Linked DNA regions of Homo sapiens: all the other regions are linked to region 4. Evidence: promoter capture Hi-C in 16 types of primary human blood cells and fetal thymus (Javierre and others, 2016). All regions are on one chromosome and are shown on one strand. The core of a region is centred on a gene start or on the middle of the fragment in contact, and the rest is flanking DNA. Distances in the headings are between cores, read along the strand shown.

Region 1 (3,612 bases), core at 1-2,500, 460 kb before region 4:
GATTTTTTTTAAAATTCCATTAAGAGATTATTTTAACCGATATATGTAGTCAATTTCTGTGTACTGTGATTAGTATTCTGTTCTATCTATTGAGCTTTCTACCTCTTTTATTCCGCCACCACTTTCTACTGAACTGAACAGGTACCCTTGTTTTCTTTTTTTCTCCTTTCCTGACAATGTCTAATTTTTCAATTATAACTCTTACATGTACACCATGCATACTTCTGCATATGTAGTATGCAATTAAAAAAATCTAAAGGTAATTACAATGTTCCTCCCAAATAAGTCCTTAAAATATTTTTATTCCTATCATCCCTTCCTTTCTTACATATTATTGCCCAGTATTTTTGTCCCAAATTGTTTTTATTCCCTAAGACTATTAATTTTGTAACAATCAATGCTCATTAAAACGTACACATAAATTTCATTGGTGCTTCCCAATCCCCTGACAGCCCAAGGTTTAAGAGTTAAGCTTCCTTGACTTTTTCTGTATCAATGGAAAAGCTTTTCTAAAATAGTTTTTGAAAGCATAGCCTACTGACCAAGCAACAGTTTATCTGCTCACATTGCTTCTTGCATCTTTCACCACCTTCTGGACTAAATTTCCTTCTTGATGAAGACCACTGTTAAAAATTATTTTAACAAGGGTCCATGAGTGGTAAATTCTCAGTCTTTCAAAGTATTTTTACTTCTCCTCATTCGTGAAATTTAGTGGAGTATAGGATGCTACTTTTCTAGTTATTTTTCTTTACTGTTTGCAACTGTGATAATACTGTCTTTTAGCCTCTATTATTACTATGAAGAAGTCTACTAACAGTCTAATTGTTTCATATGTGATCAGTCTTATTCTCTCTGGCTACTTTTAAGGTAATCTCTCTGTCTTAAGACATTTTCCAGTTTCATGACAATATGTCCAGTGGGGATTTACTTTTACTTATCCCTGCTCAAGGCTCCCCGTGCCTTCTGAATCTGAGGGTCTATAGCTTTTATATAACTCTGAAAATTTCTTTAGTCATTACCTCAATGTATTTCCACTCTCCCATTCTCTCCTTCTTGAAACTCTGAATAGAAATATTCTGGATGTTCTCATTTTCAACTTCTCTTTTGCCTGTGTTTTTGTGCTTTACTCTGTAATTTCTTTGGATTTCCTTTTCAGTTCACTAATTCTCTTTTTAGCTATGACTAATGTGTTTAACCTATCCACTTAGTATTTAATTTCAATGATTATATTTCTCATTTCCAAGTTACTTTAAGTTCTTTATAAAATCTGTTTATTGTTTTTCCATAATACAATAGCATCTTGCTCTTATGTTCTCGTTTTGTTTTGTTTTTTCTGAGATGGAGTCTCACTCTGTCACCCAGGCTGGAGTGCAGTGGCGCGATCTCGACTCACTGCAACCTCCACCTCCCAGGTTCAAGCAATTCTCCTGCCTCAGCCTCTCAAGTAGCTGGGACTACAGGCACACACCACTACAGCTGGCTAATTTTTTGCATTTCAGTAGAGATAGGGTTTTACCGTGTTGCTCAGGCTGGTCGCGAACTCCTGCACTCAGGCAATCCGCCCGCCTTGGCCTCCCAAAGTGCTGGAATTACAGGCGTGAGCCACCACGGCCGGCTGCTTTTATATTCTTATTCCTTCTTCTATGTCTTAAATAACTTTTAATTTTGTAGACTATCACATATCTTAACTGAAGTTGTTGAAAATCTAATCCTGCTATTAGTTGTGTCCAGTGGTTCTTGCTTACCTGACAGCTTCATGTGTCTTACGGTTTTGTCTGTGAGAAACCTATGTGACCTGGATTGAGAATATACCCCTCAAGAGAGATTTTGGCCTTTCTTCTGAGATTTTTCTAAAATGGTAACATCTGGGCTTGGGAGTTACCAAACTACATGGATAGTTTAAATTTAAACCCAACTCACCTAAGGACCACAATTATGAATCCTGAAGGGAGACTTCCCAAGCCCCTGACGGCCCAAGGTATAAGAGTTAAGCTTCCTTGACTTTCCCTGTATCAAGGTAGACTTTTCTAAAATATTCTTTTTGAAAGCATGGCCTACTGAGGGACTAGGACCAAGGGCCTACACCATGTAGACACCAGATGGCAATTCCTTAAATTATGCAGGCTAAAATCTCTACTATCACCACCAAGAACACCCCAAGTTTCAGCTTTTGGTACATCAGGCCTTTAGTTCCCTCTACTTTTTTGTTCCCTGGATATTTCCCTTACTTTCCTGTGCAAGCTGAGTTACAGAATTCAGAAAACACATTTGTAAGTTTATCTAGCAGATCCTGTTTAAAGTAAGGGTCTTCAGATTATCTAATCTGCTTTATGCCTAGTCAATAGTTAAGTATTTTACATTCAATACTGTAAAAAGATACCTTTATTTTAAATAATTTTAAACAGTTTTTGTTATTAACATTTAAATTCTGATTATTCATATTCATCCTTCCTAGATGGAGATGAAATAGATACAAATTAAATCAATAGACCATGATCATATTTCACACTGAACTCTAAGTTTCATGCAACAAAATTAAAAAAAAATAAAATTAATGCTAAACAAAACAACAAAACAGCCGGAAAAAGTGTACACATTTTATTTTTCACATAATCACACTACCATTTAACTCTGTAATCTTTTCTATCTTGTCCCTTAAGAGTTCTGCCTTGCATATCTATTAAGATCTAAAAGAAAAAATCTAAAAGATTAAAATTAGTCTTCTATTGGTTTTTATCAGAACTATTTTTAATCTTTAAGTACCCCTCGGGAAATACTGTCTAAAGCAAGGGTCCCCAACCCAGTGCTACTCTGTGGCCTGTTAGGAACCAAACCGGGCTGGGCAGCACAGCAGGAGGTTAAGTGGTGGGCTCCGCCTCCTGTCAGTTCAGCAGTGGCATTAGATTCACATAGGAGTGTGAACCCTATTGTGAATTGCACATGCAAAGTGGAAGAGTTTCATCCCCAAACCTTCTCCTGCCCCCTTCCATAGAAGAACTGTCTTACACGAAACCAGTTTCCAGTGCAAAAAGGTTGGCGACTACTGGTTTCAAGTATCAGACTTACATGTTAAGCCCTGATAATAAGTAACAACATACTGTAATGTGAAGGAAGATAATTACAATTTAAAAATTCTAATACAGCTAAATTAAAACTATAATACTGCACCAGGGATACCTAAGTTATACCTGATTTCAAAAAAAACATACTTAACACTCTGTTCTTACTGAATTAAACTTCTATCATTTTCTTAAAAACATACACAGCCATAAGCTTCAAGTAATCTAAAACAACTACCTGAACACAAATAAATGTAATAATATTTGAATAAGTTATTGCTTACCTGAGTCTTTAAAAGGAAAAAAGCCAAACATCTTTAAAATACAATGAATAAAATAGTAAATTCATTAGAAAGTTTACTACTCACCAAATAATGTCAGTTTCAGTATCCTACTGCACTGAATTGCAAAGGAAAGGTCAGAACTATCAAAAATTGTTATAAGATCTCCATCTGGAATTTAAAAAAAAAAAAGGTTGTTTTTTAATTTTTTAAATTTTCAGATTTGTATAAGCAGTAAACTAGTAAAAATTAAAAATCCAAAATGTAGATTG
Region 2 (3,474 bases), core at 511-3,010, 330 kb before region 4:
ATAGCATTGCTTTATAAAGCCATATGACCATAATAAAAAACCTAATAGAAAACTAATGATCTATATCACAATTGAAATCAATAAATCAATAAAAGAAAATAACAGTGACTCTTAAGCCATTCAGCATCCTTAAGATAAAAAAATAAATAAAATCCTGTCATTTGCAGCAACATGGATGAGACTGGCAGACATTACGTTAAGTAAAATAAGTCAGGCACAGAAAGACAAATGTGACAAGTTCTTACTCATGTGCAAGCTAAAACAATTGATCTCATGGACGTAGAGAGTAGAATGGTGGTTACCAGAGAGTGGGAAGGGTAGTGGGGAGGGGGAGATAAAGAGGAGTTGATTAATGAGTACGAAAATATGATTAGATAGAATGAATAAAATCTAATGCTCAGTAGCACAATAGGGCAACTATAGTTAGCAATAATTTATCATGTATTTTAAAATAACTAGAAGAATCATCTTAGAATGTTTCCAACACAAACAGATGATAAATGTTTGAGATGATGGATATTTCAACTACCTAGATTTGATCATTGCACATTACATGCTTGTGTCGAAATATCATATGTACTCCATAAACATGCATAACCATTATGTATCCATAAAAAATTTTAAAAACCAATGATCACAAGACCAGTCCAGATTCATGCTACAAAAAGCACAAATTCAAGATGGCAGGATTCACTGGAGGCTGTGATGATTAATTTTATGTGTCAACTTGGCTTGGCCATAGTATTCAGATATTTGGTCAAAATTTATTCAGATTTTTTGTGAAGGTATTTTTTATTTAATTTTGTTAACATTGTCTCTTACATTTTCTCTAATTTACAAATAGCCTGGTAACAGAAGTTCTAATAAACTGAATTAAAATCCTAATGCTGAGCTGAAGCTTTACCTCATTTATAAAATTCCTTATTTTCCACTGATGATTCCCCTGATCATCTCATTTGTTCAAGATTTTCAAATTTTGGATGTTATTAATTTGCCTGAGTGTTTTGGAAGAGACTACCAAATAACCTACGATCTATCCTTTCCTTCTTTAAAAAAAAAAAAAAGAACTTTAATTTCAGGGGAGCTAATGGCCTGCAAGCAAGTCACGATTATTTCCAGCCTCCCTTGAAGCAAAGTGTAGTTATATGACTAAGTTTAGGCTATTGGAAAATAGGCAGAAAGGATGATTGCACCTTCCAGATTTCCAGATCACAGTAGAAATTACACATCACATTAGAAATTCCAGCCACTCTATTTTCCCCTTCTATAGTCTTGAATGCCGACATGGACATCTCAAAAAATGGTAGAACGATCAAACAAAAGGAGCCTGGGTCTTGAATGTCCTCCTAGATCAGAGATGAAGATGAAAGTATTTTATAGATGAGAATTAACACTTAACATTTAAGTGAGTAGACTTTTTGGATTTTGATTTTTTTTATTTTTTGACAGACTCTCGCTCTATTGCCCAGGCTGGAGTGCAGTGGCATGATCTCGGCTCACCGCAAACTCCGCCCCCAGCTCAAGTGATTCTAATGCCTCAGCTATCTGATTAGCTGGGACTACAGGCATGCACCACCATGCCCAGCAATTTTTGTATTTTTTAGTAGAGACAGGGTTTTGCCACGTTGGCCAGGCTGGCTTCGAACTCTTGGCCTCATGTGATCCACCTGCCTCGGCCTCTCAAAGTGTTGGGTTTACAGGTGTGAGCTACTCTTGCCCAGCCTTAAGCCAGTAGACTTTGAGTAAAGTGAATTACCCTTGGTAATGTGGGTGGGCCTCATCTGTATTGGGCCATTTTTGTGTTGCTATAAAGGAATACCTGAGGTTGGGTAACTGATAAAGAAAAGAGGTTTAATTGACTCATGGTTCTGCAGGCTGTACAAGAAGCACGGTGCCAACATCTGCTCAGCTTCCGGTGAGAGCCTCAGGAAGCTCACAATCATGACAGAAGACGACAGGGAGCCAGCATGTCACATGGAGCTAGCAGGAGCTAGAGTGACAGCAGGAGAGGTGATACCCTCCGAAACAAGATCTCACGCACTCAGAGAACTCACTATCACCAAGGGGGTTGTGCTAAGCCATTCATGAGGGATCTGCCCCCTGATCCAATACCTCCGTATAGGCTCACCTCCAACATGGGGGATCACATTTCAACATGAGATTTGAAGGGGTCACACATCTAAACCATATCATTATACAATCAGTTGAAGGCCTTTTTTTTAATTTTTTTATTTTTCCACAGTTTTCACTCAGTCACCCAGGCTGGAGTGCAGTGGTACAATCATCTCATCACAGCTTCAATCGCCCAGGCTTCCCGAGTAGTTGAGACTATTGGCACTGGCTAATTTTTTTTTTTTTTTTTTTTTTTGACACAGGCTGCCTATATTGCCAGGCTGGTCTCGAATTCCTGAGCTCAAGCAATCCTTCCGTCTTGGCCTCCCAAAGTGCTGGGATTACAGACATGAGCCACCATGCCCAGCCCAGTTGAAGGCCTTAATAAAAAAAGGCTAACCTTTCCCAAAGAAGAAGGAATTCCTCTGGGCTTGAACTGTAACATCAACTCTTCCCAGCCTGTTGTCTCAAATACATGCCTTATTTTGAATTCTAAAACATGAAGCTTAAAACTAATGTTAAAGTAATAAGATTGTATTAGTTTGCTAAGGCTGCTCTAAGAAAGTACCACAGGTTTGGGACTTGTCAGCCTCTACAGCCACTTGTGCCAATTCCTTAAAATCCTCCCCTCAAGCCTACATTTGTATATTGGTTCTGTTTCTCTGGAGAACTAATACAGGGGCCATTCTGCAATAAGAACCATGCATTTTACAGGATATGAAGGCCCATAATCCCCAGAAAGCTTAATAATAATGTATGATATTCAAGGATACTCAACGAGTTTGTGATCTAGTTAGCAAGCGTATAAAACATTAGAAGACACCAAAGACAACAATGCAGAAGTCACTAGTTAATAAATGATTTACAAGTATAAACATTGCCTCCCAGAGGAATGTTGGAATGACAAAAATACTGGTTAAGGACACTTGCCAACCTGGTGAGCCCATAAAATAGTATAAATGTATAACTAAGCCAAGTTGTCAGTAAGTTTCTCAACAAAGATAATGCATTTTATGGCTGGTAATAAAACTTGGGGTAGATAATATCTTCATCCCTGGCATTTGCCGTATTGCCCTCAGTGTACCATTTTCCATGCTTTATTCTGAAATCTAAAAACATTAAGCTTAAAACTAATGTAAAGTAATGGGGTTGTTTGAGTTTGCTAAGGTTGCTATAAGAAAGTATCACAAACGGAGCAGCTTAAACAACAGAAATTTGTCTCACAGTTCTGGAGGCTAGAAATTCCAGATCAAGGTATTGTCAGGGCCATGCTCCCTTTCAAGGTGTTAGAGAGAATCTGTTCCATGCCTCCCTCTTAGTTAGCTTCTGATAGTATGCTGCCAAACTTCGGCATTCCTTGAC
Region 3 (3,501 bases), core at 220-2,719, 470 kb after region 4:
TAGATGCAGTCTATACTCTTAGTTTCCTTCTGTTGATCTATTGATTGACATATGTAATTAGAGTAGTATTAAGAACACTTGCACCTGTCTAATACTTAGTTCGCAAAATGCTTTCCTGTGACTTTTCTTTTAACACAGCAGGTCCTTACAACATTGCTCTCTTAGTTCAGAAGACTGACTTGTCACCTTTCTTTTTTTTCACTGCTTTAGCTCCCAGCATCTGGCCCAGAGCCTGACACAAATAGGTGCTCACTATAGATAGTTGCTGAATGTTTGAATAAATAAACAATAAGGGGATAGACTATTTGTGATTTAATATATTTTATTTCATCTGATGCTAGTTAAAATAATAAAGCAAAACATAAATGGTAGTCTTATCTGTGTCTTTAAGGCTTGAAGTTTTCAAGAATATGGTTAGAACACAGTAGGCATTTTAAAAATGCCAGTAACAAATTCTAAAACTAAAGCTTCTAAAATTTATCTTCCCCCTCTGATCCCATAATTTAGAGATTTGGAAAGCTGTTGTTTTATAACAGCCTGGGAGTATGATGTTACCTTTGCCTTTCTTGGGTACGGCTTCCTTGCCCATTCTTGGCGCCGGTTGAATTTCCTTCATATATTGGGGTAGGTGTGGATACTCTTTGCCATACTGCAAGTGGGGCATCTCCTTGCCCATGGCAAGGCCATCTTTGGCCAAAGGCATGTGAGGTACTTGCTGACCCAGGGGCTGGTATTGTGGAATTTGTGGTGGCATCTGAGGAGGAATTTGAGGTGGCAGCGGCTTGATCCCATAGTAGGCACCAGCCTGAATGAGCCTGATGGAACTCAGGGAAATGGTAAGCAGCACTCCCAGCAGCTGCAGAGGGCCAGGCAGCACAGCCATCACCTGTGGGAGGAACCAATGCACCAACTTGGTGAAACTCTGCAAGGCCAAGTGACTTGAGTTTATTTAGAGATAGAATGGGGAAAAAAAAGGGAAACAGTCTTTAACATCAGAACTTCATGATAGAAGTCAAATGAAAAGGAAAATGCTACTTTCTATAGAAAACAAACAAACAAAAAATAGAGAATAGTGGAATCTGTCAAATAAAGGCAATTGGTAGGAACATAGACTATGGGAGAGACTACTGGTTGTCCCCCATATCGATTCTGCCTTTCTTGCCCTGTTTTCCCGTCTTCACCTGGGAATAGAGCAGCCCAGAATGAAGACATTTCAGCCAGGCAGGGCCATTTCAGCCATTCTTGCCAATTGTGTATAGTTGTCATGGGTGTACCTTCCAGGAAGAATCCTAAAAAGGAGTGGATATGTCTTCCCCTTCCTCCTTCCTTCTGGCTGGATTGCTGATATGTTACTGGAAACAGACCACACATCTTGGACCATGAGGCGAATGCAGTGCACAGAGAATGATAAAACGAGCTAGAATAAACCTCAGTCCTGGTTAGGCTTTGTTAATAAGTGCCAAAATTATATTCTAAATGGAAACAGTTGATAATTTATAGGCTTTATGCTACAGTAGAGATTTTTCATCTGCCAGATGAGGGCTGCTTTGATGTAGTCACAAATAAATGTAAATGTAAAGAGCAAACAGGAACAAAGCCTGCAGAAGTCTTCTGAGTTGAAGAGAAAATGCTTCTTCATGTAATAGTATGAAATATTTTAAAAATCACTATCATAATTATGCACCTTTATTTCTTGTATTAAAATACTATGAATTCATTAGTTTAGAAATTGGTTAATTGGACCATTAAAGTCTATCTTTGTCCTTTTGTGAAAGAAAGTTTACAAAGCAAGAGTTGTATGAATAAGAGGGAGATGTTTAACTATTAATAAGAATACGCTGCTTCTAAGCCCATTAATAGCACTCTTTACAAATTAGCAGTAAACAGAATTAATATAAATGGGGCTTATCTGTTTATAAAAACCAGCTTGAAAAGACCTCTGTTTGGAAACGCCCTAGGCTTAAAACCAGACAGCCCAGAGAAGTGCATTGTTGGCAAATGCACACTAGAGGGCAAGTGTGATACACACTTAGGTCTGTTCAATATTCTGCCTGCCCACTCCCTGCCCTCTGTAGTTCTAATGCTGGGCATACACGAACTCCATGCTCACAATGTATAAAGGGACTTAATGAAAATTTGAATCTTAAGGGACATGTCATCATAATGCTGGAGAGAGAGAGAGAGAAGTGGCAAATTTCTCACAATTTTTAATGTAAGTATCTTCTGGAAAACTTTGAAGAAACTTCTGTCTGTAAATAATTCAATTTCCATCTTCTTGAGAGTTGTTTTCTTTGCTTTTGCCTTACTTAATTCTGGATCATAGTTTTCTACTTCTTAGAAAATGTGCGTTGATTTTGCAATATCCTATTCCAGGGTAATGCCAAGAGTGTATACAGGCTACAAAAGGATTGGTTAATAAAACACCTAATAAAATATTTAAAATGAATCCCTATCACAAAATTCAAGCTTTACAATCTTTCTAAATACACTAACAAATCATTTTTTCCCTGGAAAAAATGAAGAAACAGTTGCTAGGCCCATTTTGGATTACTAAGATGAATATAATATGGCTGGTGGGCCTTACCATCAAGGAGTTTGTACTCTTAGTGGGGGTGACAGATGTGTAAACTGTTATTGAGTAGCAAAGGATATCTAGTAAAAAGTAAATTTTCCTCCTACTTCTGTTCTCCAGTATCTAAAATCCCTTATGTTTGAAGCAACAATTTTTCCTCATATTTTTCAGATAGTCTGTGGATATGCACATATCATATACATCCCTTTCAAACATAAATTGCAGTATACTATACACACTTCTATTTTTTGCTTTTTTCACTCAAAGATCAGTACTTATTCCTTGTCTAGTTATGTGCATCTAAACAAATTTCTTTAAGTTCTTCATTTATTAAAATATGACTTGGATGTTCCCTTAAGTCTTTTCTAGCTCTAACATTCAATGTCTGTAAGACAGTTACTAGAGATCTGAAAGTGTTAATCCATACCAGAAATGTGTGGTAATATCTGGTAATGTATAAGCTGGTACTTAATTCTACTTTTGGGGATGAATGAATTTAATTATGGAACCCCAGACTTGTGGTGAAGTCTTTAATAATAAGCTAGCATGTTTGGCCCTTCAGCCTTCCATCAATTCAGTGGATATGTTGGATTATACTTCATAATCTTTAAACCAGGACAATCTAATGAAATACTGGAAAACTGGAAGGAGATGAAATGCCTGGAAGAATACCAGTTGAATTATTTCCTCTCATAGGCTCAGCATATCTGTCCTGTAAACCAGCTCTTTAGGTCTGCCTTCTGCCATTTCTCTGGCTCTTTATCTAAATAAACTTTGTTCAGTTTTAACGTGAATATTTATATAAGGGCCCTGGTTAGAATTTACTGCTTTACTTATTCCTACTAATTTTTCTCCTGTCCCTGAGGATATTTTTGGTGGTCAAAGTGGTATGGGGGTTCTCCCAAATCACTCAAAAGAACATCAAATTT
Region 4 (3,601 bases), core at 146-2,645:
CTATTAGACAGCCCTGGGGCTTAAATCCTACTTATTCTTCAAAGCCTAGTTGAAACACTGCTGCTTTCATGAAGCTTTCCCCCAGTGACTCCAACTGCCCCAGCCCCCACCGCCAACCTCTCGTAACACTTTGAATCACACTCACAAAGAATAAGATTAATTTTACCTTGTTACACCTTCCCAACTCCAACATAAGCAAGTTGAAGAAAAAAAAACTATATCTAGATCACCATGAAGTTTTCCTCTGACACCTTGGAGAGCCCAGCGCTACGGTAATGTTTGATGTCTGCTAATGGAGAGCTGAATTTCTTAATTACTAATTATCTATCCCTTTCAACGATTTCCATTTTTTTCCTCTGGGATTAAAGTCGATGTCTATCAATGTCCTGTATTATTTTTAAAGTGCCCATGAGCTGTACACATACAATATAACGAACAAGCAAATCCAAAACTAATACATGTGGTCAATACACTTAGATCAACTGTAAAATTTAGACAAGCCTCTAAAGGTCCCTTTTTAAAAAATGATGTTGTACAACCTAACAGTGTATCGTGAGATCAACTATTTCAAAAGTAGAAGCCTTTCCCAAAGATTAACACTGGGTGAGCAGTTTACCAAAAAATTATTGGCGGTCTTCCCCCACAATCCCGAGTATAAATCAGGTAAGCATGCAACAGCTTGGGTGCAGTAAGAGCAAAGTCCCACACTGCATCCAAAGCTCAGAAATCGAGCTGTGAGAAATGTGGTAGTAGGGGAAAAGATGACTTGCGTGAAGGAGACGAACGATGAAAACTGTTGGAATGCAAAACGAGATAACAGCCAGAATAAAAAAAAGTATACCAACTAAGTGGGAGGGATTCTCCTCGGGTCAACCTCTGAACCCTCAGGCGAAGGTCGCAGTGGTCATTTCAAAACGTCTTTTCTTCACATTGTATTTTAGTGACTCAGATCTGCATCCAACAAACTTCCTTCTTCAGCCTACTCCAACTCCCACAGCCAGGACTCCGGCCAAACCCAGCCCTGAAGCCACCCACTCCAGCACACTTTGGAGACTGACAGACGACACAGGAGGACCGTTCTGAGGCCCAGCACCTGGATGACACCCCTCTCCTTGGGAGTCCCGCCCCAGTCCCTTGGGCAGAACCAGGCAGGCAGGGGGCACCCAGCTGGCAGAGGGGTAGGGCAGGGCACCGGACTTCGCCTAGGACCGGCCTCTCCGTTCCATGCCGACGCCAGACGGCTCCTCGGGGACCGGCAAGATGGTGAGAAGGAAGAATAAAGGGGCATTGGAAATTAGCCCCGGCTTTCACTCACCAGCCGTCGCCGCTCGACGTTGGCAGCGGCGGCACATCTTCTCCTTCCGCCATTGCTGTTGACGTCCACGTCACTTTGCCGAAAAGTGGATCCGGCGCTGAGACCAACTCCGAGACTCAATGTCGTAAAAGGTCTTCGGAAGTCCAGCACTGAGCTTCCCCAGAGGGGAAGAAAGAGGGAGGTGGCAAGGGACTGGAGGAACGCAACGTCACGGCGTCCCGAGGCCGAAAGGCAGCGTCTTGGGGGAGGAGACTTGGTGGAGGCAGCTGCCCCTCCAAAGACTACATGTCCCAAGATGCCACGGTGCCGCGGGCGGGGCGGGGCGCGGTGGACGCCGTCCCAGTTGGAGGCCTTGTGTGACAAACAGCGTGTCTTTTTAGCGTCCACTTAGCGTCTTCATTCCAGCTTGGCGTCGAAATTAACAAAGTTAGAATTTACAGTCCTAACTATTGGAGAAAGCAAGGGAAATGGGAATTGACATAGGGAAGGCGGACGTAGGAGAAGAGCCACAGTTCAGTAATTTCCTGCTGTAGCAATTTAATTTGAAGAAAGAGTGGGACGTAAGGAAAGGGGCAGACCACCCCTATTTGTGAGGCCCCGTCAAAAGTGTAAATGAAGGCCCACATACTTTTTGACTGAATATTTAAAAGTTGTAAATGAAGCTATATACTAAAGGAGATACGTTCTAGCCTCCTACCTTAAATATATCTTCCTAACAGTCTGGAAGATCAAGTCCGAATTTAGAATTCTAGGACTGGAATTCCAGGCAAGCAGAGCTGCCAAAATCCTTCTCTACGCGTTCCACTTCCCCTTTACACCGCATGGGCGGACACTTGGCCACCGCCGGGGCCTTGGGGTGAGCACACGCTCAGGAGGATGGACCTAAAGAAACGCTTTTGCAAGCCCTGAAAACAACAGTGATGAAGTAGAACTGCATGTAACAATATGGATACATCTGAAAAATACGCTGTTAAATGAGCAAAACAGATTGCAGACGGATAGGTAAAGTATGGTATCATTTATAGTTGGTGTTTAAAAGACAATATATTTAAAATAGATCCATATGAGTTTAAAATGCAGGAGAATGATATATAGAAAACTCGGAATGGCAGTTACATTCAGGGAAAGGGAGGAGTTTCCATGAATTTTTAAATATTTATTAAGGGCCCCAAGGTGGCCACATAGGTGGCCAGTGTTCTTTATAGAGTCTATACTTAGGTATCTAAAATGTTTCATAGTTTCAAAAACTATTTGTTTTAAATAGATACAAAACAGTACAGCTATCTCATTTACAACCAAAAACATGTTCACTCTCTTCCCTAAAGGGAAATAATACAGATCTGCATGGTACTGCACCCACTTCCAAGGCCCGGATCTCTGTAATGTTCAGTTCTCTGTTAGGGAACATTTCTTTTAACATAGAATGAGACTGTAGATGCCCTCTATCAAAAAGAATAAAAGACGTGAATCTAGGTCACATTACCATTCTAATATTCAGGACCTCCCCTGGGTCCCTTCAATTGTTGCCAGTAGATTTTCAGAAACTTTTCAGAAAATGGTTTTAAAACCTATTCAGTCATTGACATGAGAAGCAGTTGCTCACTGGTTAAGAAGATTCTAGTCCTCAATTATGATTCATTTTGAGTATAATTAAATCAGCAACTGCTTTATAGTCTCTGGTAAAATATTTTCCCATTAAAAATATGTCACTTGACATTTTTAAACAGTTCTTTATTCTGTCAAAATAAAGTGGAAAGTTCTGACTTCTATGTTCTTTAATGGAGCCAGAGCCAGCTTCATGGGCATGTAGTCTATGCAATAGCATGAGACCACATGCTTAGAAGAACTCTGTGCTTGATTTCATGCTCTGGTGTTGCCATCTTGAAATTCTTAATAATTTGGGAACAAGGAGCCACTGGTTTTAATTTTGCACTAGGCCTCACAAATTAGGGAGCCAGTTCTAGATAGGGTCAATATCTTAGTGATGTATAACCCATTGGGGACAAGATTTCAACCAAAATTGTTTAGCGATAGTGTCTTCTAGCGGATTTTTTTTTTTTTTTTTTTTTTTTGAGACAGAATCTCACTCTCACCCAGGCTGGAGTACAGTGGCATGATCTCAGTTCACTGCAACCTCTGCTTCCTAAGTTCAAGTGATTCTCCCGTCTCAGCCTCCCAAGTAGCCAGGACCACAGGCGTGTGCCACCACGGCCGGCTGATTTTTGTATTTTTAGTAGAGACGGGGTTTTGCCATGTTGGCCAAACCATTTTTCTTTATTATTATTT
Region 5 (3,688 bases), core at 940-3,439, 440 kb before region 4:
TAAAGAAGGGTTAGAGATGTCACGTGTCATACATAAGTCATTTGATCTCACGTAGCATATTTATGCCACTGTTCTACATTTTAGAAGTTTCTGCATAGTTCTTAACATATTTCTTAATCTAACATGAAAAATTATTCTGCCTGGGTAAGGGCATATAAACTCAGAAAATCCTAAACGCTCTATTAATCTTTTGGACATTTCCAATCAAATCCAGAGTAATCATTTCATTATTCTAAAAAGAGAAGAAAACAATAAACTGGAAGAAATATTTTCACCAAGTGTAATAGTTAAAAGGCTATGATCTATAATAGATAAGAAACACAAATTTCTGAGAAAAAATTACAATACCTCAATTGAAAATGGGCCAAAATTATAAATAAGAAAATACTGCAACAAACAACTGTATTAAAAAAAGTTTATGGTCCTCCAAATGTTGATGACATTATACATTCTTGCAATGTTTTCTAAACAATATACCAATATACACTAGGGTCTTACATTTATCTGGTCAAGAGAATTTGGCACATTTATCTGAGTCAAGAGAATTTATTTTAAGGAAATAATGAAAAAGAAAGGAAAAAATACATGTACTAGTTTATTCATCACAGTGTCACTACATGTTAAATATTAAAATGATCTAAATAGACAATACTAGGGAAACAACTTAGTAAATTATATCATATTATGTAATCATTAAGAAGACTGCATAACTAGGTAATAAGTGAAAATCAAATCATGTATTGTCATTAGTTATGTAAAATTCTTATGTTTTCAGACAAACAGCATAGAGATTATGGAAAAACAGACAATAGTGAAAGTTAGGGAATTATGGATTTTGCTTTTGTAAAAGATACGCTTTGTGAATATTGCTTTTTCTGCTCCCAGCAAATTTCAAATGTGTAATACACCGTTATCAACTATAGTCACCATGCTGTACATTATATCTCCAGAACTTATTTATCCTATAACTGAATGTTGTACCATTTGACCAACATCTCCCCTTTCCCCCAACTTCCCAGTCCCAGTCCATTCTACTCTCTGTTACTGTGAGCTTGACTTCTTTTTAGATTCTACATATAAGTAAGATCATGCAGTACGTTTCTTTCTGTGTCTGGGTTATTTCACTTACCATAATATCCTTCAGGTTAATCATGTTATTACAAATAGCATTACCTCCTTTTTTAAGGCTGAATAGTACTCCATGGTGTGTGTGTGTGTGTGTGTGTGTGTGTGTGTGTGTGTGTGTGCCTGTATCATAATTTTTTTATCCATTCATCCTTCAATGGACACTTATGTTGTTTGTATATCTTAGCTATCATGAATAATGCCACAATAAACGTGGGAGCAGAAATATCTCCCTGAAGTACTGACTTCATTTCCTTTGGATATATACCCATCAAAGGGATTGTGGGTCATATGGTTGTTCTCTTTGTAATTTTTTGAGGAGCATTCATACTGTTTTCTATAGTGGGTATACCAATTTCAATTCCCACCAACAATGTAAAAGGATTCCCTTTTCTCCACATCCTAGCTAACGCTTGTTATCTTTTAACATTATTGATCATAGCCATTCTAACAAGTATGAAGTGATATCTCATTGTGGCTTTCATTTGCATTTCCCTGATGGTTAGTGATGTTGAACATCATTTCATATAACTGTTGGCAACTTGCATGTGTTTTTTGGGAAAATGTCTACTCAGGTCCTTTGCTCATTTTTTAATCAGGTTTTTTGTTTTGTATGGTTTTGATTTTGGGTTTTTTTTGCTATTGAGTTGTATGTGAATATTTTTTAAAGCTGAAATTGTTACAGCAGTTTCCTCTTTCAGTAACCCCCCTCCCCGCAACCCCCAGTGTGGAACAGTCTTGGACCTCATCTGAGGAGCCATAGGAACTAAAAGGTTACATTAAGGGGTTTCCACAGAGCCAGAGAGCTCCGGTGTTTGACAGACTGGTAAAATCCAGTTGACACTTCTGTCTCAGATTTCCCAAACACTTACAAAAAATGCCAAGCTCTTCTGAATGAGGCAATGATAAGCTGATAGCAATGAGCTTGAGAACGATCTCCCTTTGTTGGTGACAGGAAGAAAAAAAAAAGAGAGGCAAGATAAACTTTAAAATAGGAAAGATAAGAGAAAAAGCAATCCAAACTCTGACAATTTAACAGTGAACTCTGAATTGTCAATTAAGACTCAGAAAAGGAAATCCAAAGGTCAGGACGGTTTGCTCCCCAAAGAAACTGCACATGCCACCACAATAAAAAATAAAGGCTATTGGGCACTGTTATCACACAAAATAAACCAGAAAACACAGAAAGGCACAGCTGCCCATATACAATATCACAAAAATGAGTTCTGCAGTGCCTTGAGTCTCCCTTTCCTGCAATCTCTTGTTTTTAAAGTAAGTCACCCTTCTGCTCTTCTAATTTCTCTTTTTGCTCCTCAACTTCCAAGGCACCAAATAATTTCTTGGTCTCCCTAATTTCTTGATCTCCCTACCGACCCTATTCAAACCCTGCTCAGACAAGGGAGATGACTGACGAGTTTTAAAGTAGTTCTTTCCCAGGGAGTACTTGTACTTTGTCAGGGAGTGTAGTAGAAGTTCTTTAATGTTTTGATGCCAACATCCCTTCCCTGATATAATTGTCCTTTCTCCAGTCCATGCTATCCTATCAACCAAGTCATCTTCCATCTGTCCACTTCATAGTGGGTATGTGACCCAAGCTGGAGCAATATTCCCGGAACACAATGCCTGTGGGTACACTACCCAAGCAAGATATGCCAGTCCTGGGCCTGTTTGCCTTCAGTTCTCTCCTCTCCTTGCACCTGTTGTATTGTGTAATACAGGGGGACTTGGCCCGGGCTCAGCAGGCTACAGCCAATGGAAGATGTTGATGGGAGGCTGCAGGACAGGAGGAAAGGGAAAGCCAGGATTCTTCTTCGGTTCTTCTTTCTGGGTAGAGCAGGCTGCCTCTTTTTGGCTGCAGCTCCCACCATTGGCCCGCCCTGGTTTCAGCCGCAGGCCTGGCTATGGAAATTCTTCTTACTTTATCTCTCTGGCTTAAAAGAGGTTTCTGCTTTCTTATTTTGCTAATCTCTACATTTCCTGCCTCATTCTCCAATTTGTCTCTGAGCTTGTTAAACACCACAAAACCAACTGTCTGCTTTAAAATTTTATTTTAAATACTTAATGTGCTTTCTGTTTTCCTGCTGGAATGATAACTAGAATTAGAGTCATTCCATGAGATTTTACTGTGGATACTAAGAGAAAAAAGGTCTCTTCCTGTTAGATCATTAGGCTATAAGATTAGGGATGCCAATAGCCAATTTCCAGCCACCTAAACCCAATTTTAGAATGACATCAAACACAGAAGCACACAGACCCAGGAAACAGAGAGAAAAAGAATATCTGACACATTCTTAGCACTCCCTGTGAAAGGATAGAGTTCCCTGATCCCCGTCACAGGGCATGTGACAGGGGTGTGGCTCGCTGGGCTCCCTGCCTCCTAGGCGGAACATGCAGACAGGCAGGTGAAGAGGTCGTGGGGAAAGCCTTTGGGCCCCAACCCCACAGCACCGTCTATGGGTGGGTGTCTGCCACTCCCAGAGCCCAGGTGGTTGTGTGTTACAGTGTGCGCTTTCAGCTTTGCCATCTGCAGACAGCTTGTGTTAATCAGTTCAATAAGCCCTCT
Region 6 (3,449 bases), core at 199-2,698, 450 kb after region 4:
GTGCAACCATCACCACCATTCATCCTCAGAACTCTTTTTATCTTGCAAAACTGAAACTCTGTGCCCATTATACAAAAACCCCCCTCACTCGAGCCACTGGCAACCACCATTCTGCTTGCTACCTCTATGAATTTGACTACTCTAGGTACTGCATATAAGTACAGTCATACAATATTTGTTATTTTGTGACTGGCATAATGTCCTCAAGGTTCATCCATGTTATAGCATGTGTCAAAATATTCTTCCTTTTTAAGGCTGAATAATAGTCCATTGCATTATAGGCCACATTTTGTTTATTCATTCATCCATTAGTGGCCTCTTGGGTTAATTCCACCTTTTAGATATTGTGAATAATGCTGCTATGAACATGAATATACACATGTATGTTTGAGTTCATGCTTTCAATTCTTTTGGGTATATACCAGAAGTGGAAATGCTTGATCATATGGTAACTCTATTTTTAATTTTTTGAGAAACCACCATACTGTTTTTCACAGTGGTCCAGTTTCACATTCCCCCCAAGCAGTGCACAAGGGTTCCAGTTTCTCCACATCCTTGCCAATACTTGTTATTATCTGGTTTTTGTTTGTTTTGATAGTAGTCTTCCTAATAAGTATGAGGTAGGTCCCTTTCCTTTTCAAAACCTGCTGCCTTTATATATTCTAAGGGATGGGAATGTCACCATGACATCTGTCATAGTCTTTTTGTAGCTGACTATATCTGTTGTCTCTGGTAAGCACAATAATCAAGAAACAACAGAGAGCCCTGTCATCTCCTGAACCCTCACTGGCAGTTGTTTGCTTCTTAGATAGCTAAGAACTTTTGTCTCCTTCCTTGAGGAGGCGATCTGGCATAATACCTGAGAGCATGGACTGTGAAGCCAGATATCTGCATTAAAATCATGGCATTGTCATTTATTAGATCTTGGACAAGTTACTATGTCTCTGCTTCTTGTCTTGTCTTTTCTCTCTCTTTCTTTCTGTCTTTCTCTCTTCCTTTCTTTCTTTCTTTTTTTTTCCCCCAGGGTCTCACTCTGTTGCCTAGGCTGGAGTGCAGGCACAGTCATAGCTCACTGAAGGTTTGAACTCCTAGGCTCAAGGGATCCTTCCTCCCCAGCCTCCCAAGTAGCTGGTACTACAGGTGCACACCACCACACTGGCTAATTTTTAAATATTTTTTGTAGAGACAGGGTCTTACTATGTTACCCAGGCTGGTCTTGAACTCTGGGGCTCAAGTCATCCTTGTGCCTTCGCCTCCCAAAATGCTGGGATTACCAGTGTGAGCCACCATGCCCAGTGCCTCCATTTCTTTAGCTGTAAAATGGAGCTAATAATAGAGTTATTATGAGGAGTAACTAAGTCAATACATAAAAACATTTAAAGCAGTTTGTGGCACATGGTTGGCACTCACTAAATGGTAGCAGTTGTTACCCCTCTGGAAGCTCCCTGAGGCCTCCCCAGAATCTAATGCCCCAGTGCTTCCTGTACAGCCTGCAGAACTGTGAGTCAATTAAATCTCTTTACTTTGTAGATTACCCAGTCTCAGGTATTTCTTGATAGCAGTGCAAGAACAGACTAATTCAGAAAATTGATACTGAAGAGTAGGGCATTGCTATAAAGATACCTGAAAATGTGAAATCAGCTTTGGAACTGGGTAACAGGCAGAGGTTTGAACAATTTGGTGGGCTCAGAAGAAGACAGGAAGATGAGGGAAAATTTGGAAATTCTCAGAGACTTGTTAAACTGTTATGACCAAAATGCTGTTAATGATATGGACAATGAGGTCCAGGGTAATGAGATCTCAGATGAAAGTGAGGAACTTATTGGGAACTGGAGCAAAGGTTACTTTTGTTATGTGTTAGCAAAGAACCTGGTGGCATTGTACCCCTGCCCTAGGAATCTATGGAACTTTGAACTTGAGAGTGATGATTTGGGGTATCTGGCAGAAGAAATTTCTAAGCACCAATGTGTTGAAGATGTGGCCTGGCTGCTTCTAACAACCTATGCTAATAATGTATGAGCAAAGAAAGGACATAAAACTAGAACTTACGTTTAAAGGGGAAGCAAAACATAAACGTTTGAAAAATTTGCAAACTAGTCATGTGGTAGAGAAGAAAAGCCCATTTTCCGGGGAGCAGTTCAGACTGGCTGCAGAAATTTGTATAGCTAAAAGGAAGGCACATGCTGATAGCCATGACAATGGGGGAAATGCCTCCAAGGCATTTCAGAGATCTTTGTGGCAGCCCCTCCCATCACAGGCCTGGAGGCCTGGGAGGACAGAATGGTTTTGTGGGCCTCACTTAGAGCCTGACTACCCTGTGCAGGCTTGGGACACTGCTCCCTGCATCCCAGCCATTCTCGCTCCAGCTGTGGCTCAAAGGGGCCCAGGTACAGCTTGGGCCACTGCTTCAGAAGGTGCAAACCATAAGCCTTGGTGGTTTCCACATGCTGTTAAGCCTGTGGGTATGCAGAGTGCAAGAGTTGAGGCTTGGGAACCTCCACCTGGATTTCAGAGGATGTGTGGAAAAGCCTGGATGTCCAGACAGTAGCCTGCTGAAGGGGCAGAGCCCTCATGGAGAACCCCTACCAGGGCATTGCAGAGGGGAAACGTGGGACTGTAGCTCCCACACAGAGTCTCCACTGGAGTGTTGCCTAGTGAAGCTGTGAGAAGAGGGCCACCTTCCTCAAGACTCTGGAATGGTAGATACACTAACAGCTTGCACCTGTTGCCTGGAAGAGCTACAAGCACTCAACATCAGCCTTTGAGAGCAGCTCTGGGAGCTGAACCCTGCAAAGCTGTAGGGGTGGAACTGCCCAAGATCTTGGGAGCCCATCCGTTGAATCAGTGTGCCCTGGATGTGAGACATGGAGTCAAAGGAGATTGTTTTGGATCTTTAAGATTTCAGGACTGCCCTACTGAGTTTCAGACTTGCATGGGGCCTCTAGCCCAATTGTTTTGGCCAATTTCTCCCTTTTGGAATGGGAGTATTTACCCAATGCCTATACCTCCATTGTATCTTGGAAGTAACTAACTTGTTTTTTATTTTATAGGCTCATAGATGGAAGGGGCTAGCTTTGTCTCAGATGAGACTTTGGACTTTAGACTTTCGAGTTAACGTTGGAATGAGTTAAGACTTTGGGGGGCTGTTGGGAAGGCATGATTGGATTTTGCAGTGTGAGAAGGACATGAGATTTGGGAGGGGCCAAGAGTGGAATGATAGGATTCGGATCTGTGTCCCCACCCAAATCTTATGTCAAAATGTAGCACTAATGTGGGAGGTGGGGCATGGGAGGTGATTGGATCATGGAGGCAGTTTTTCATAAATGATTTAGCACTGTCCCCATGCAGTGGTTCTCATGATAGTGAGTGAGTTCTCATGAGATGGGGTTGTTTTAAAGTGTGTAGCACCTCCCCCCTTTCTCTCTTCCTCCTGCTCCAGCCATGAGAAG
Region 7 (3,707 bases), core at 147-2,646, 480 kb before region 4:
TTACCATATGAACAAACTCTTTGGTAGCAAGGAACTATATGACATCTTTTGTTCCAGAGCTGAAAGACACTTTTGGAATTTGTCAAGTTTGATTTTCTATGAATATCCAACATCTTTTGCCAATAACGTGGACTCTAATAAAGTCTAAATGGTTCTTCATTGCACTATTTAATAATGGCAGACCTTTTTAACAACGGTGATGTGTTCTTGAACATGGGAGTCCTATTTGTCCTATTTGGGGTCAACAACCACTGTTCCTATGAAGAAACCCTTTAGACACTTATTACCTATGATTTTTCTTTTTACTTTTTATTTTTCTGTCCTCACAATCTGTTCCCATACCTGTGATTTTCAAGCAAAGATTTATTGGTTTATGTCTTTATTATCTCTACTTCTCAATTATTTCACAATGGTTGATTTAGCTAGATGTAATATCTAGTAGCAATAACCTTGCATTTTAATATCTATCTGGTATTTAAATCTTTAAAATAATCACATGTTGGCTGATTCTTTGAAAAATATTCAAACTACCTATTAATCAAAAGACTATGAGCAAACCAGATACTTACTGCTGAAGTGAGAAAAAAAAAAAGACATTATATCAACTCCCACTCAAATCGAGCTGCAGTAGGCAGCTAGGACTCACAGGCTTAGAAAATGAGACGGAGCCCACTCTATTATACCAGCTGCTCAGCCCTATACGTGTCTAAGTTTTTAGTGCTGGGTAGCACTAAAGGAGATACAACTATGTTTATATCCAGCTTATTTCCTAGCAAATGTTTCTTTATAATAAAAAAAGAATACAAATAAAAATCAGCTCAACTATTTTAAGCTATTTATCCTATTCCCAAATATGACAAGAAAAAAAAAGAAACGCTTACAAAAGTTTCTTAAATGCTTTCTTAATGATTTAGACTAATAGCATAAAAGGTAGCACAGAAATTAACCAAATTTAGATGCCACCTTAATCCTGGATTGTACTTCATAACTAACTTTCGGAATAGAAGTGACCAGAATCTAAAATAAAAAGGTAAGTAGGTACAGAAATATAATCAAGGGGAATAAATACGTATAGCACATAACAATGAACTCTTAATTCTTGAAAATTAGAAGGCTTAACTCCACAATAAAAAAATAAGCAAACAGGCAATAAACACATTTAAAAAAATTCAACCATATTAGTATTCCTTATCTCAGATACAGAAAAATTAAGCAACTTACCTGCAGTCAATAGCTAAGAACAGAACCATGAAGAGCTAAGAACCATCACTGGAACTCAGGCATAACTCCAAAGCTTTAGTTTATAAAGTCATTTTGCATATATTATCCCATGAACAAAACAATATAAATATTAACTTGGGCATCATCAAAAAAGGCTGAGATTAAGGTTCCACGTAGTAGTAGACTGTGGTCATCAATGAGTAAGGAACTCCTGGTCAAAACCACAGTTATTCCCCTCAATAAAAATTTATAGGGTACAACTCTTCATAAAGCTTTTTTTTTTTGCATGTTTTCATAAACTGCTATAAATTGATTTTGAAAAACATCCCTAGAGTTAAAAATTTCAGAGGTTTATTATATCTCTACACAAGATTCCTTTTACACAGCAGATCCTCAAATAACATCTTTTGTTCGACATTGTTTCGTTAAAACACTGAGAAGGAAAAAAAAATTATTCCCAGTTGGGGTTACTGTTCTGTGTAGAGTCTGCACATTCTCCCCAAGTCTGTGTGGGTTTTCTCTGGGCACTTCAATTTCCTCCCACATCCCAAAGATGTGTATGTTAGGTTACTTAGCATGTCTAAATGATCTCAGTCTGAACGACTATGGGTGTGTGTGTGGTTGCAATGCACCCTGCAATGGAATAGCAACCTGTCAGGGTTGGTCCCCACTTTGCTACTGAGCTGATGGGATAGATTTCAGCCACCCACAACCCTGAATTGGAATAACTGCATAAATCATTATCTTATTTGTTTTTATTAATCTTTCTTAAATGTATCTATAACTCACATTTGTTTTTAGTCTTTATCTAGAAGTCTGGGGGTATTTTTGTGATCAGAGATATGCTGTAGGAACTCAACTTACTCATATCAATTAGCCTATGGTAGAACTGATTTCCTCATACGTCATCTCACTTAAAGTTACAATTTCCAAGAACCTATCAACAATGTTAAGTGAGGATTTACGGTACTTACTTTAAACCCACCTCATTCAAGTCCAAATGGGACTGTCACAGTATTCTGAAAATTAATTAAGAAGTCTGTTTAATTGTTTAAAAAAAGAAAAAGGATGAACTTCTTCACATACTTGAGAGATCTATAGGATATATGAAGAGAGCAAAATGCAGACATTGTTTATAGTAAGCAATGTTTTGAGTAATAAAAAATATGGTCATGCATTGCTTAATGACAAGAGTAGGTTCTGAAAATTGTGTCACTGTATAATCATATAGTATACTTACACAAACCTAGATGTATATAGCCTACTACATAGCTAGGCTATATGGTACATAGCAGTCTACAAACCTGTAGAGCATGTTCCTGTACTGAATACTTAGGCAATTCTAACACATGGTAATTATTTGTGTATCTAAACATATCAAAACATAAAAAAGGTACAGTGAAAATATGGCAAAAAAGATAAAAAATGGTATGCCTGCCTAGGGCACTTACCATGACTGGAGCTTGTAGGATTAAAAGCTGCTCCAAGTGAGGTACTTGTGTTGAGTGAATGTGAAGGCCAAGGACATTACTGTGCACTACTAAAGGTTTACAAACGCTATACACTTAGGCTATACTACATTTATTTTTTAAAATTCCATTTCTTCAATAAATTAACCTTAGCTTACTGTAATGTTTTTACTTTATAAACTTGATTTTTTAACTTTTTTAATACTTTAGCTTAAAGTACATTGTGCTACTATACAAAAATATTTATTCTTTATATCCTTATTCTATAAGCATTTTTCTATTCTTTTAATTTTAAATTTTTACTTTTTTAAACATTTAGAAAAAAATTATGACACAAACATACACATTAGCCTAGGCCTATACAGCATCAGGATCATTGATATCACTATTTTCCACCTCCATATCCTGTCCCACTGGAAGGTCTTCAGGGTCAAGAACATCCATGGAGCTCTCATCTCCTATGATAACAATGCCTTCTTCCGGAATACCTTCTGAAGGACCTATCTGAGCCTGGTTCTACAGCTTTGTTTTTTTTTAAATAAGTAGGAGTACACTCTAATGATTTAAAAATATAGTATAGTAAATTCACAAATGAGTAAGAGAGTCACCTATCATCATTATCAAGTATTAGGTACTACCCATAATTATGTGAGCTACACTTTTATATGACTGGCAGTAAGTCTGTTTACACCAGAATCACCACAAACACGTAAGTAATGCCTTGTGCTACATTATGATGGCTACACATCACTAGGCAATAGAAATTTTTCACCTCCATTATAATCTTATGAGACCACCATCATATATGCAGTCCACTGTTGACTGAAATGTTATACAGTGCATGACTATATATAAGCTATGTTTTATGTATATTTTCAAAAAGAATCAATGACAGAATAAAGTAAAAAGTAATAAAAAAAATTAAGGGGAAAAGAGAACAGGATGAAGCAAAGAGTAATGGTAAGACTTCTGGGAATTATTTATTACACAGAGTAGCCAACCTCTATCATGACCCTC

Evidence for each region. Contacts are between HindIII fragments. The CHiCAGO score rates a contact against its expected background, and 5 or more counts as called.
Region 1: a fragment that was not itself captured here is called in contact with the fragment with the promoter of TBC1D23 in region 4 in 4 of 17 cell types (neutrophils, non-activated CD4 T cells, fetal thymus and 1 more); the score reaches 6.7 in neutrophils.
Region 2: a contact is called between a fragment that was not itself captured here and the fragment with the promoter of TBC1D23 in region 4, in 7 of 17 cell types (total B cells, fetal thymus, total CD8 T cells and 4 more). The highest score is 9.3, in total B cells.
Region 3: a contact is called between a fragment that was not itself captured here and the fragment with the promoter of TBC1D23 in region 4, in 3 of 17 cell types (naive B cells, total B cells and monocytes). The highest score is 9.4, in naive B cells.
Region 5: a contact is called between a fragment that was not itself captured here and the fragment with the promoter of TBC1D23 in region 4, in 3 of 17 cell types (neutrophils, non-activated CD4 T cells and fetal thymus). The highest score is 7.3, in neutrophils.
Region 6: a fragment that was not itself captured here is called in contact with the fragment with the promoter of TBC1D23 in region 4 in 14 of 17 cell types (naive B cells, naive CD8 T cells, total B cells and 11 more); the score reaches 19.5 in naive B cells.
Region 7: a contact is called between a fragment that was not itself captured here and the fragment with the promoter of TBC1D23 in region 4, in 1 of 17 cell types (total CD8 T cells). The highest score is 5.3, in total CD8 T cells.

Annotation. Positions count from the first base shown.
Region 1 is chr3:100,719,874-100,723,485 of GRCh38, reverse strand. It overlaps TFG (trafficking from ER to golgi regulator), which reads right to left. Exons shown (of 8, transcript NM_006070.6): 3 at 3,428-3,511. Among named protein-coding and RNA genes, the nearest start is that of TFG, 12 kb to the right of the region's middle. The HindIII fragment of the contact is 1,488 bases long and covers 507-1,994 here.
Region 2 is chr3:100,591,168-100,594,641 of GRCh38, reverse strand. No RefSeq gene overlaps it. Among named protein-coding and RNA genes, the nearest start is that of ADGRG7, 17 kb to the left of the region's middle. The HindIII fragment of the contact is 1,719 bases long and covers 901-2,619 here.
Region 3 is chr3:99,788,065-99,791,565 of GRCh38, reverse strand. It overlaps COL8A1 (collagen type VIII alpha 1 chain), which reads right to left. Exons shown (of 4, transcript NM_020351.4): 3 at 556-886. The coding sequence starts at 883. Among named protein-coding and RNA genes, the nearest start is that of CMSS1, 28 kb to the left of the region's middle. The HindIII fragment of the contact is 1,999 bases long and covers 470-2,468 here.
Region 4 is chr3:100,258,786-100,262,386 of GRCh38, reverse strand. TBC1D23 (TBC1 domain family member 23) reads right to left here and starts at 1,395. Exons shown (of 19, transcript NM_001199198.3): 1 at 1,316-1,395. The coding sequence starts at 1,368. RefSeq lists enhancers at 654-1,322, 1,098-1,587, 1,323-1,991. The HindIII fragment of the contact is 5,201 bases long and covers 77-3,601 here.
Region 5 is chr3:100,697,232-100,700,919 of GRCh38, reverse strand. No RefSeq gene overlaps it. Among named protein-coding and RNA genes, the nearest start is that of TFG, 10 kb to the left of the region's middle. The HindIII fragment of the contact is 5,167 bases long and covers 1-3,688 here.
Region 6 is chr3:99,804,198-99,807,646 of GRCh38, reverse strand. No RefSeq gene overlaps it. Among named protein-coding and RNA genes, the nearest start is that of CMSS1, 12 kb to the left of the region's middle. The HindIII fragment of the contact is 4,083 bases long and covers 1-3,449 here.
Region 7 is chr3:100,740,689-100,744,395 of GRCh38, reverse strand. All of the region lies in intron 6 of TFG (trafficking from ER to golgi regulator), which reads right to left. Among named protein-coding and RNA genes, the nearest start is that of TFG, 33 kb to the right of the region's middle. The HindIII fragment of the contact is 199 bases long and covers 1,297-1,495 here.